Linked DNA regions of Homo sapiens: region 1 is linked to region 2. Evidence: promoter capture Hi-C in human tissues and cell types (Jung and others, 2019). All regions are on one chromosome and are shown on one strand. Each heading gives the region's core, a stretch centred on a gene start or on the middle of the fragment in contact. The rest is flanking DNA. Distances are from core to core; before and after follow the strand shown.

The links. The method cuts DNA at HindIII sites, captures the fragments that hold promoters and counts their contacts. A contact is called where the count stands out against the background at its distance.
Region 1: a fragment that was not itself captured here is called in contact with the fragment with the promoter of ADCK2 in region 2 in 1 of the 25 tissues and cell types used here (dorsolateral prefrontal cortex).

The regions. Positions count from the first base shown.
Region 1 is chr7:141,692,610-141,697,219 of GRCh38, reverse strand. All of the region lies in intron 1 of DENND11 (DENN domain containing 11), which reads left to right. Among named protein-coding and RNA genes, the nearest start is that of DENND11, 7.3 kb to the left of the region's middle. The HindIII fragment of the contact is 6,875 bases long and covers 1-4,610 here.
Region 2 is chr7:140,669,909-140,674,693 of GRCh38, reverse strand. It overlaps ADCK2 (aarF domain containing kinase 2), which reads right to left and starts at 1,749. Exons shown (of 8, transcript NM_052853.4): 1 at 431-1,749; 2 at 1-83. The coding sequence starts at 1,363. RefSeq lists a silencer at 1,355-1,814. The HindIII fragment of the contact is 30,105 bases long and covers 1-4,785 here.

The DNA of each region.
Region 1 (4,610 bases), core at 1,032-3,531, 1.0 Mb before region 2:
TGCCACATGTTTCAGTGACCTGCCTCTGATCCTCCCAACAGACTACACCATCATCATGAGAAAAACAGGTGCACAGAGCCATTAAGTTGTCTAAAGTTAGGGCCAGAGCCCAAGTCTACCTGCACCCCTTATCCACACCACACTACCACCCAGTGGAGAATGATATGGGATCTGTGAAATGGAAGGTCTTTCTTTGTAAAGTGAATGCATTGGAATTCAGCCATGGATTGGCATATAGCTGACTTTAAATCAGCAGGATTAGCTTCTTCCTGACTCAGGATTCTTTATCCTGATGCTTTTCTCTTTGCTTTGGATGTGCTCTCAGACTAGGTGGTTTTAAGACTGTTTCAAACCATGTAAGACCCAAAGTCAACTCACCTGGGTTATTTACTTTTCTGATGTTAGGGTCTGAACCAAATACTCTTTGGAGGTTTCCACCTGTGGGATCTGATGGCCCCTTTAGGTGGTTATGTGAAGGGAATGTATTGTTGGGACCTAGAATACTCTTTGATTCATGCCTTTATTCCTGAAACAGGATTTGTTTTGACTTCCTGATTACAATCAGGGCATATGTATACACAGATGGGAAGAGAACCGTGGAAAGAGTAAAACCTCAGGCACGTGCTGGGGTGGGAGTTCCACTCCTGAGGTCAGAGGAGCTGGAAGAGGATCTCCAGCTGAGGCAGTCTCTGGATAGGAAATGAAGAGCTCAGGAGGAAGTGCTTGCTTGGGAACCATCTAACAGAGGAGGAAGAAGAAATTCACATATTTCCTATTAAAAAGAGATTGTTTTGGTTCAAGATCATTGCTTTCTCTATTTTAAATATTTTGAGGTGAACTTTCTAGCAGACAGCAGTTACTGCAGTTAATGTCCAATCTCCCTAGGAAATAGTGATGAATTTTAAGACAGCTGGGGGTTTGGTCATTTCTCATTTAAACAGAACTAGTTTTGGAAGACAGAGGCAGTGGTCAACCTAGATAGGACAGCCTACCTCTGGCCTAGCCCATGGGCTTATAAAACCCCAGCTCTGGGAGGCCCTGGTGCACAGAGCTGTCAGGCTGACCTTTGGAGCTGTGAAGTGGCAGGGTTCAGACCATCTGTACATCCTCAGCCAGGCGCGACACTGACCTTCTGGCTTTGCCTGGGTAACTGAGCTGCCAGCCTCGTAGTCGGTTAGTCCAAGTTCCTTTAAACAGAGACATATTTGCCTTTGCATGAGCTCAGCACCTGGCAGGCACCGTGCTGCCAAGTTGTGCTCCACCAATATTTGTTCAATGACCAGCTGAATGTACACAATGCATATTGCCACATTTGTGCCTCCCGTGGTCATGTGAATCCCTCCTCAGAAGTTGTCTTTGCAGTAGAGGCTAGGAAGTGCCTGTAAGTACCTGTAATAGGTCCAAGTCATGGTCCAAGATGAGAAAGGACACAGAGATGGAAAGAGAGCAAGTTAGGGGAGAAAAAGGCACTTGTCACTGGCACCTCCTCTCTTTGATGGACTAGCCATGAGATGACCTCTTTTGTTGAATCTTCCAGGCCCCAGCTCCCTGGCTGAGTTCTTAATACAGTGAGGATATCTGGAAAACCTAAAAGCATGGAATGTGAAGACTGAGCCTGGGATAAGTAGCAGTCAGGATGAGTTTCTTTCTGGTATTAAATGGCATCCCATAAGGATTACTAATTATGCAAAATCACTTTCCATTAAGTCTCCTCAAATTCCATATGTAAGCTGGTTTTCATTTGTAATGTTTCTGTAGGATAACTTCAAGCCCTGATAGCGCTTCATTCCCTATTAGTGTGGTGCATTGCCTCAATTATTTTTGGCTTTTGCAAAGTCCTTTATGCTCTCCTTTTTTTCACATTGCTATTATTTCAATTATTTTCCCCAATTTGTAAGTTGAAATGTTTTGAAAAGTTGAAAGAATAGTGCAGTGAAAACCTGTATGTCTTTCACTTAGAGTCCCCGTTTATTGACATTTTGCCCCATTTGCTTTATTCTTACATAGTCATATCCCCTATAACATGAAATATATGTTCCAAAAATCACTGTGCGGCAAAAAAAAATCATGAAGTAAAAATCACAGGGCTTATGAGAAAAACTTTGTCAGTGGCACATTTTTTTTAAAAAAAAGATAGGAACCTACCAAAAACTATAGGACAGTTTTGCATATGATAAATGGTTAAGAAATACATACTTAGTAAATGTGGAACTGTACCTTTAAAAGACCTGGTGTTTGTATCTGGAGGTGAGTGCTGAAAGGATTGAGCCTGTGAATTACTATGTGTGGTGGGAGGGGGGCTGTCTGAAATCAGAGGCAAAACTGTGACGCTAGAGGTGCATGGCATGGCCCAGAACGAGGTGACCTGAGGTAGCAGGAGAAGCTTAAGGTGGGTGTGTTTTGTATATTCCGACATGGCTTGATTCAGCTGGGTGTAGTTTTCCACATTGACTTTGTGTTTTTCATGATTGAAATCACACATAAGCAAATGTCAAATTCCCTAATACATTGATTGCTTTGGAACAGATTCAACAAGCATTATAGCAGAACTGACTGTGTGTGGAGATATAAATAGACTTTTCTTTTTTTTGCTGAACTATTTGAAAGTAAGTTGTGGATGTCATGGCATTTCATTTCTAAATTTTTCAGTATGGGCTGGGCGTGAATACATATACTAACGCCTGTAATACCAACACTTTGGAAGACAGAGGTGGAAGGATTTCTTGAGGCCAGGAGTTCAAGACCAGCCTGGGCAACATGGCGAGACCTCATCTCTATAAAAATTTAAAAAATTAGCCCGGCATGGTGGCGCATACCTGTAGTCCCAGCTGTTTGGGAGGTTGAGATGGGCGGATCATTTGAGCCCTGGAGTTAGAGGTTATAGTGAGCTATGATTGGGCCACTGCACTCCAGCCTGGGCAATCCTGTCTCTTAATAAAATAAAATAAAATACTTCAGTATAAATCTCCTAAGAATAAGGCTATTTTTCTACATCACCATAGTATCATTGCCACTCTTAGGGCAGTTAATTTAGGTTAATTCATCAATTAGGTTTTTTTAAATAATTAATGTATTTTATTTTTTAGAGCAATTTTAGTTTTACAGAAAAATTGAGCAGAAAGTACAGAGTTCCCATATACTACCTCCCCCTCACTCATACACATATAATTTCCCTTTATTAACATCTTTCATTAGTGTGGTATATTTGTTATAATTGATGAACTAATATTGATACATTATTGTTTATTTAAATCCATAGTTTGCATTAAGGTTCACTGTTGTACAGTTCAATGGGTTTTGAAACATGCACGATGTTATGTATCCACCATAACAGTATCATACAGAATAGTTTCACTGCCCTAAAGATCCTATGCTTGACCTATTCATCCCTCCCTTCCTATTGATCTTTTTATTGTCTCTATAATTTTGCCTTTCCCAGAATGTCACATAGTTGAAATCATATAGTATGTAGCCTTTTCAGGCTGGCTTCTCTTATTTAGCTACATGCATTTAAAGTTCCTCCATGTCTCTTCATGGCTTGATAGCTCATTTTTCTGTATTGCTATAGAGTATTTCCTTGTATGGATATCTCACGTTTTATTTATCCATTCACCTATGAAGGACATCATGGTTGTTTTCCAGTTTTGGGCCATTGTGAATAAAGCTGCTGCAAACATCTGTGTGCAGGTTTTGTGTGGATGTAAGTTTTCAGCTCATTTGGATAAATACAAAGGTGCATCGTTGCTGGGTCATTTGATAATAACATGTTAGTTTTGTAAAAAACTGCCAAACTGTCTTTCAAAGTGGTTGTGCCATTTTATATTCCCACCAGCAATGAATTCCTGCTGTCCCACATCCTCATCAGCATTTGGTGTTTTGAATGTTAGCCATTCTGATATGTGTGTCATGATATCTCATTGTTATTTTAATTTGCAATTGCGTAATGAGCATATGAAAAAATAGTCAACATCATGTCATTTGCCATCTGTGTATCTTCCTTGATCAGTTGTCTGTTCAGATCTTTTACCCTTTTAAAAAGTTGGATTGTTTTCTTATTGTTGAGTTTTATGAATTCTTCGTATATTTTAGATAACAGTCCTTTATCAGATATGTGTTTTGCAAATATCTTCTCTCAGTCTGTGGCTTGTCTTTTCGTTCCCTTAATAGTGTCTCTCATAGATCAGAAGTTTTAAATTTTAATGAAGTCCAATATATCCATTTTTCCTTCATGAATTGTGCTGTTAGTATTATATCTAGAAACTCATTGCTAAACCCAAAGTCACCCAGATTTTTCTCCTGTGTTATCTTCTAGAAATTTTATAATTCTGCATTTTACATTTTGGTTTACATATTTTAAAAAATTATTATTATTTTAGAGACAGGGTCTCACTCTTTTGCCTGGGTTGGGATGCAGTGGAGTGAGCACAGCTCCTTGTAGCCTTGAACTCCTGGGCTCAAGTGATCCTCCCACCCCAGCCTCCCAGGTAGCTAGCACGACAGGCACACACCACCATGCCTGGCTAATTTTTTTTTTTAATTTTTTGTAGAGACAGGGTCTCGCTATGTTGCCTAGGCTAGCTACTTTCCATATTGAATAAATTTTTGTGAAA
Region 2 (4,785 bases), core at 500-2,999:
GGCAAAACTCCCAGGACTCGGCTGCCAATCTTCATCAGCAGCAGGTCCATATGCACCTGAGCGAGCAGGCCAGGGTGCAACACCTGTCAGAAAGAGGAACCGTGAGACAGGAGAAACCTGCTGGACACATTTTACCCAGCCAGGGCTGGGTCCCACCATCCAAGCAAGAGCCAGGTGGCTTCTTATCAAAGAAAAGAGGATGTGGTCCCGACACCCAAGCAGTTAGTTCACTCCAGACTCAGTTCATTTTCCTCTATCAGACTATTCACACCGCCACTTCAAGCCAATAAATGAAACAGCTTGCATGAAATAAGCACTCAGATATTGGTCAGGCAAATAGAAATAAACGTGGGGGCGATTTGCATGGCGGTTGTTTCTGATCTGGGATAGCTCAGTGGGTAGGTGAGCTGTGAGCTCTCACAACACTTACTTTCACTGCCACGGAGATGAGGTTGGTGGCCTCAGGTTGGTGGCCAGGGACCTGAGCCCGAGACACCCCTGCATTTGATCCAACCAGGTCAGCTTTAGGGAGGAGCAGCCTTTCTAGAAACGACTGGTCTGCGAGATTTTCTGGAGGTTTCCGGCCATTTCCAAGGTATCCAAAGAGCTCTCTCAGCCCACCGACTGCCCCAGTATGTGAGAAGGGCGGCAGACAGGAGGCCCTGCCAAGTCTCTGGACGCTGTCAGTCTCCAGGAAGGCAGTGTTGGCGTATGCTTTGTACACCTGGGCCACGCAGCCTGAGCCCACAGGTTCCCGGTTCTCAAAAGAGAGGATGCTCCCCCAGTCATCCCCAAAAGCCTGCCGAAGGAAGCGCTCAGTGTGAGTCCACGGGTGGGGCGTCACTCGGACATGCAGCTTGGAAAATTGGGCACAGAAAGCCTCCGAAAACAGATCGCGCCGGGTGCTGGCCCACTGGCCCAGTTTGATGTAGGTTGGGCCTGAGGTCTCGGTGGCTTTCAGAAGCAGGTGGAGCCAGAGGGTGGAGACGCTGGGAGCCAGGTAGGTGAGGGGGTAGAGGAGTAGGAGGGGGAAGAATTTCACCAACAGAGCGCCGGCGCGAAGCCAGAGGCGGAGATGCAGGAAGACGCCGCCCAGAGGTCCCGCTCGGGGGAGGCTCTCCGCGGGCCCCGCGCCAGCCGCCCCGCTGCAGCGGACCCTTCGCCGACTCAGAACGTCAGGGGCCCCCTCACCCACGTCCCCGCACAGGGAGACGACCTTGGGCAAAGTGCCCAGCAGAAGCCAGCAGAGCCTGGCATCGCGAGGGCACTCGGAGGGCCTCAGGAGGCTGAGTCCCTGTCTGAGCTCGAAGCACCTCAGGTGCGACAGGCAAACCCTGACGGAGACGCGCCAGGGCGCCACCATCCTCCCGAGGCCCGCGGCCCAGGCGGCCCGCCCTCCACTTCAGAGGCGCCCGCTCAGGCGAGGCTGCGGTGAAGCCGAAGCCCGGCCCTGACCCCGCGGACGGAGCTGCCCATCTGGGCCGGATCCGCGCCCCGCTCCCTCCAGCACCTCGCCGGGCCTCAGGCCGGAGGCCCGCGCCCCGCCCGACACCCGCCGCGCCGCGCCGCGCCGCGCGGAAGGGGCTGTCAGACGGCACCAACTGCGGAACGGGAGGAGCCAGGACCCACGCGAAGCCAGGCCCCGGGCGCCCGCGACCTGAGCGAGGGGGCCGCGCGGGCGGAGGCAGGGGCCGGGCAGCCGCAGGGTCACCGTGCGCCCAGGGGCCAGTATGAGATCGCTGGGGTGGCGGGCACCAGCCCAGGGCGCGGGCGCAGGCGGGGGCCGGGAGGGCGGGGCGGAGCGTGGAGGGCGGGCGGAGCGTCGGGGGCGGAGCGTCGGGGGCGGGCGGGAGTGCAGGTGCAGGGAACCGAGGCACCGAGGGCTGTGGTGGAGCGGAGGGGCGCGGGAGATGGATGGGACGGGTTCGGCCACTAGGTTGAAACCGCCATTGCAAAATTATAACAGATAATGAAAGAGATCTGACCTAACCAACTCCATCTTGCTTCTAACCTCCAAGCTGTCCTTGTTCATTCCTGGGCGTTGGCTGAACTAACTTTGGGAGGAACTTAGTTTATACTTTATAGTTTAAAACAAAGATGATAACAGCCCTTTCTGAAAACAAACCTCCTTCTTGCCTGGGGAATAGACTGTCTTTGTAGGACTAACAAATTAACCAAAAGATTAGAAAGTATGATTTAGGAGTCAGGCAGCAAGGCTACAGTATTCTGACCCTCCCTAAACTGCTAATAAGATCAGTGCTCAAGATATTTTGCAGACCCTGCACTTGATGGATCAACTGACACCTACCAGATCGATAAACCAGGTCATCTGATCTTAGGCCCCCACTCCGGAACTAACTCAGCACAAGAGGACAGCTTCAGTTCCCTAAGATTTCACCTCCGACCCAACCAATCAGCACTCTCGACTCACTGGCCTTCCCCCACCCACCAAGTTGTCCTTAAAAACTCTGCCCAGTGTCCCGCGCAGCCTGATCTGTGTGAATTACTCCTTCTCTATTGCAATGCCCCTGTCTTGATAAATCGGCTCTGTCTAGGCAGCAGGCAAGGTGAACCCGCTGGGCTGTTACAGGGTGGCCGGTGGGGGCAGAGGGCTGGGTGCTGGGCGGTGAGGGTCGGAGGGAGCAGAGGGTCGGTGGCAGAGGCCCGGGCAGCCAGGGTCCCTTGACCCGCCCCTTAAAGAGGACGGCGACCCCAGGCCAAGACCACCCTGCCCTTGAGTCCTGGGTCCTGGGTAGCAAAACGCAAAGGCACCCTCTATGTCCCCCTCCCCATGTCTATCTTCCCACTGACTTCTTCGTATCTTTCATTATTCCAAAGAGCATGGCTGAAAAGTATGAAGGCAGGTTCTGAACACAGGTCCGCTTTTCAGCGGGGGTTGGGTAGGGGGGTGGTGTTGGATGGGGGTAACTGGGCTGCAGGAGTAGGAACTGGATGCTGTGTCCTCGGCTGCATTAATTCGGCAATTGTGTTGGACCTTGGGGAAAGGCTCCGGAAAGGCCATATTCATTCATTCAATAATACTCACTGAGCCCAATAAATATTTCTTGAGCCCAATCTCATATTTGTCGAGGCTCAATAATATGTACTGATCAAGCTAGGTCATGTGCTGGACCCTGGGAAAGCGGACACAAATATCCTGCCCTTACTGGCTGAATACGTAATGAGGGGGACCCAACATGGGAACATATAAATGTGCAATTTCAATTTTTTTTAAAAAAACACCCATGATAAGAAATCAAAATGTGCAGTTTCAAAGTGTGGCAAAGCCATGCAAGAAATGACCGGGCACGGTGGCTCACACCTGTAATCCCAGCACTTTGGGAGGCCGAGGCGGGGGGATCACTTGAGGTCAGGCATTCGAGACCAGCCTGGCCAATGTGGTAAAATCCCATCTCTACTAAAAATACAAAAATTAGCTGGGTGTGATGGTGCATGCCTGTAGTCCCAGATTATTCAGGAGGCTGAGGCAGGAGAATGGCTTGAACCCAGGAGGCAGAGGTTGCAGTGAGCCAGGATGGCACCACTGCACTCCAGCCTGGGCGACAGAGGGAGACTCTGTCAAAAAAAAAAAAAAAAAAAAGCCATGAAAAAAAAAAGATTACCAGAGGCACACATAGCATGCAACTACCCTGGAGAGGAAGGGAAGGCCAGAGAAAGCCTTAGAGGAGGGGGCCAAATAAAGCCCTAAACATAGGAAGGAGTTTGGTATGAGGTTTGGCAGGTGGGGATGTTGTATAACCTCGAAGAACCAAAGGGAAGTCAGGTGGCCCTGTGACCAAGGGGAGAGGGGTGGAGCTTGGAAATCAGCCCACAGAGCCATTGAAGGGTCCCATGGTACTGCTTCTACAACCATCTTCTCTGTCCTTTGAGATTTTTGCAGCTGCCTGCCTTGAGGGACCACAGTCACCTCTACATATAGACAGGCTTTATCCCCAAGTGAGAGGCTTCCACAGAAATCTGCCCAAGGGTGGGTCTGTGGGCATCATAAGTGGAAGGGGCGCTAAGGAAAGAGAAGCAAGAACAGGCCTATGCACCCGGTTCCCACTGCTGGAAGTGTGACAGCCATCCCTTAAGGAGGTTCCCAAACTGTGGGACCTAGGCTACAGACAGGAATGCGGGGGAGGGTGACCAGTGGCTCCTCTTGCCTTGATAACTAACAATCCACTCCCCAGAAGTCAAACCTACCACCACTAGCTTGCAATAGCACCAGCCATTAATTGCCCCCTTCCCTAACTTCCTCCTGATTTATTTACCCACTCAATCTAGGAGGAAAAAAAAAAAGATGTATAGAATATTCTTGTGTGTCTCTGATTCATCAAAGGGCTAATTGAGGACTTAATTTGAAACCAGGGGCCCTAGGTTCTAGCCCCCTAATTAGGAGGTAACAATATGATTCTAGTACCGCTCTCTTCAAAGCACAAAAACAACAACAACAACAACAACAAAACAATATGATTCCAGGTACGTCTTTCTGGACCTTTGTTTCTCCTTAAGCAAAATGCTGGGGGGGAATTTAATGAAAGCTATCCAAATTCAACTAAAAGCTCTAGGCTGGGCTCAGCGGCTCAGGCTGGGCGAGGTGGCTCAGGGGCTGGGCGAGGTGGCTCAGGGGCTGGGCGTGGTGGCTTAGGCTTGGCCCAGTGGCTCATGTGTAATCCCAGCACTTTGGGAGGCTGAGGCGGGCGGATCACCTGAGGTCAGGAGTTCGGGACCAGCCTGACCAACATGGAGAAACCCTGTCTCTACTAAAAATACAAAATTAGC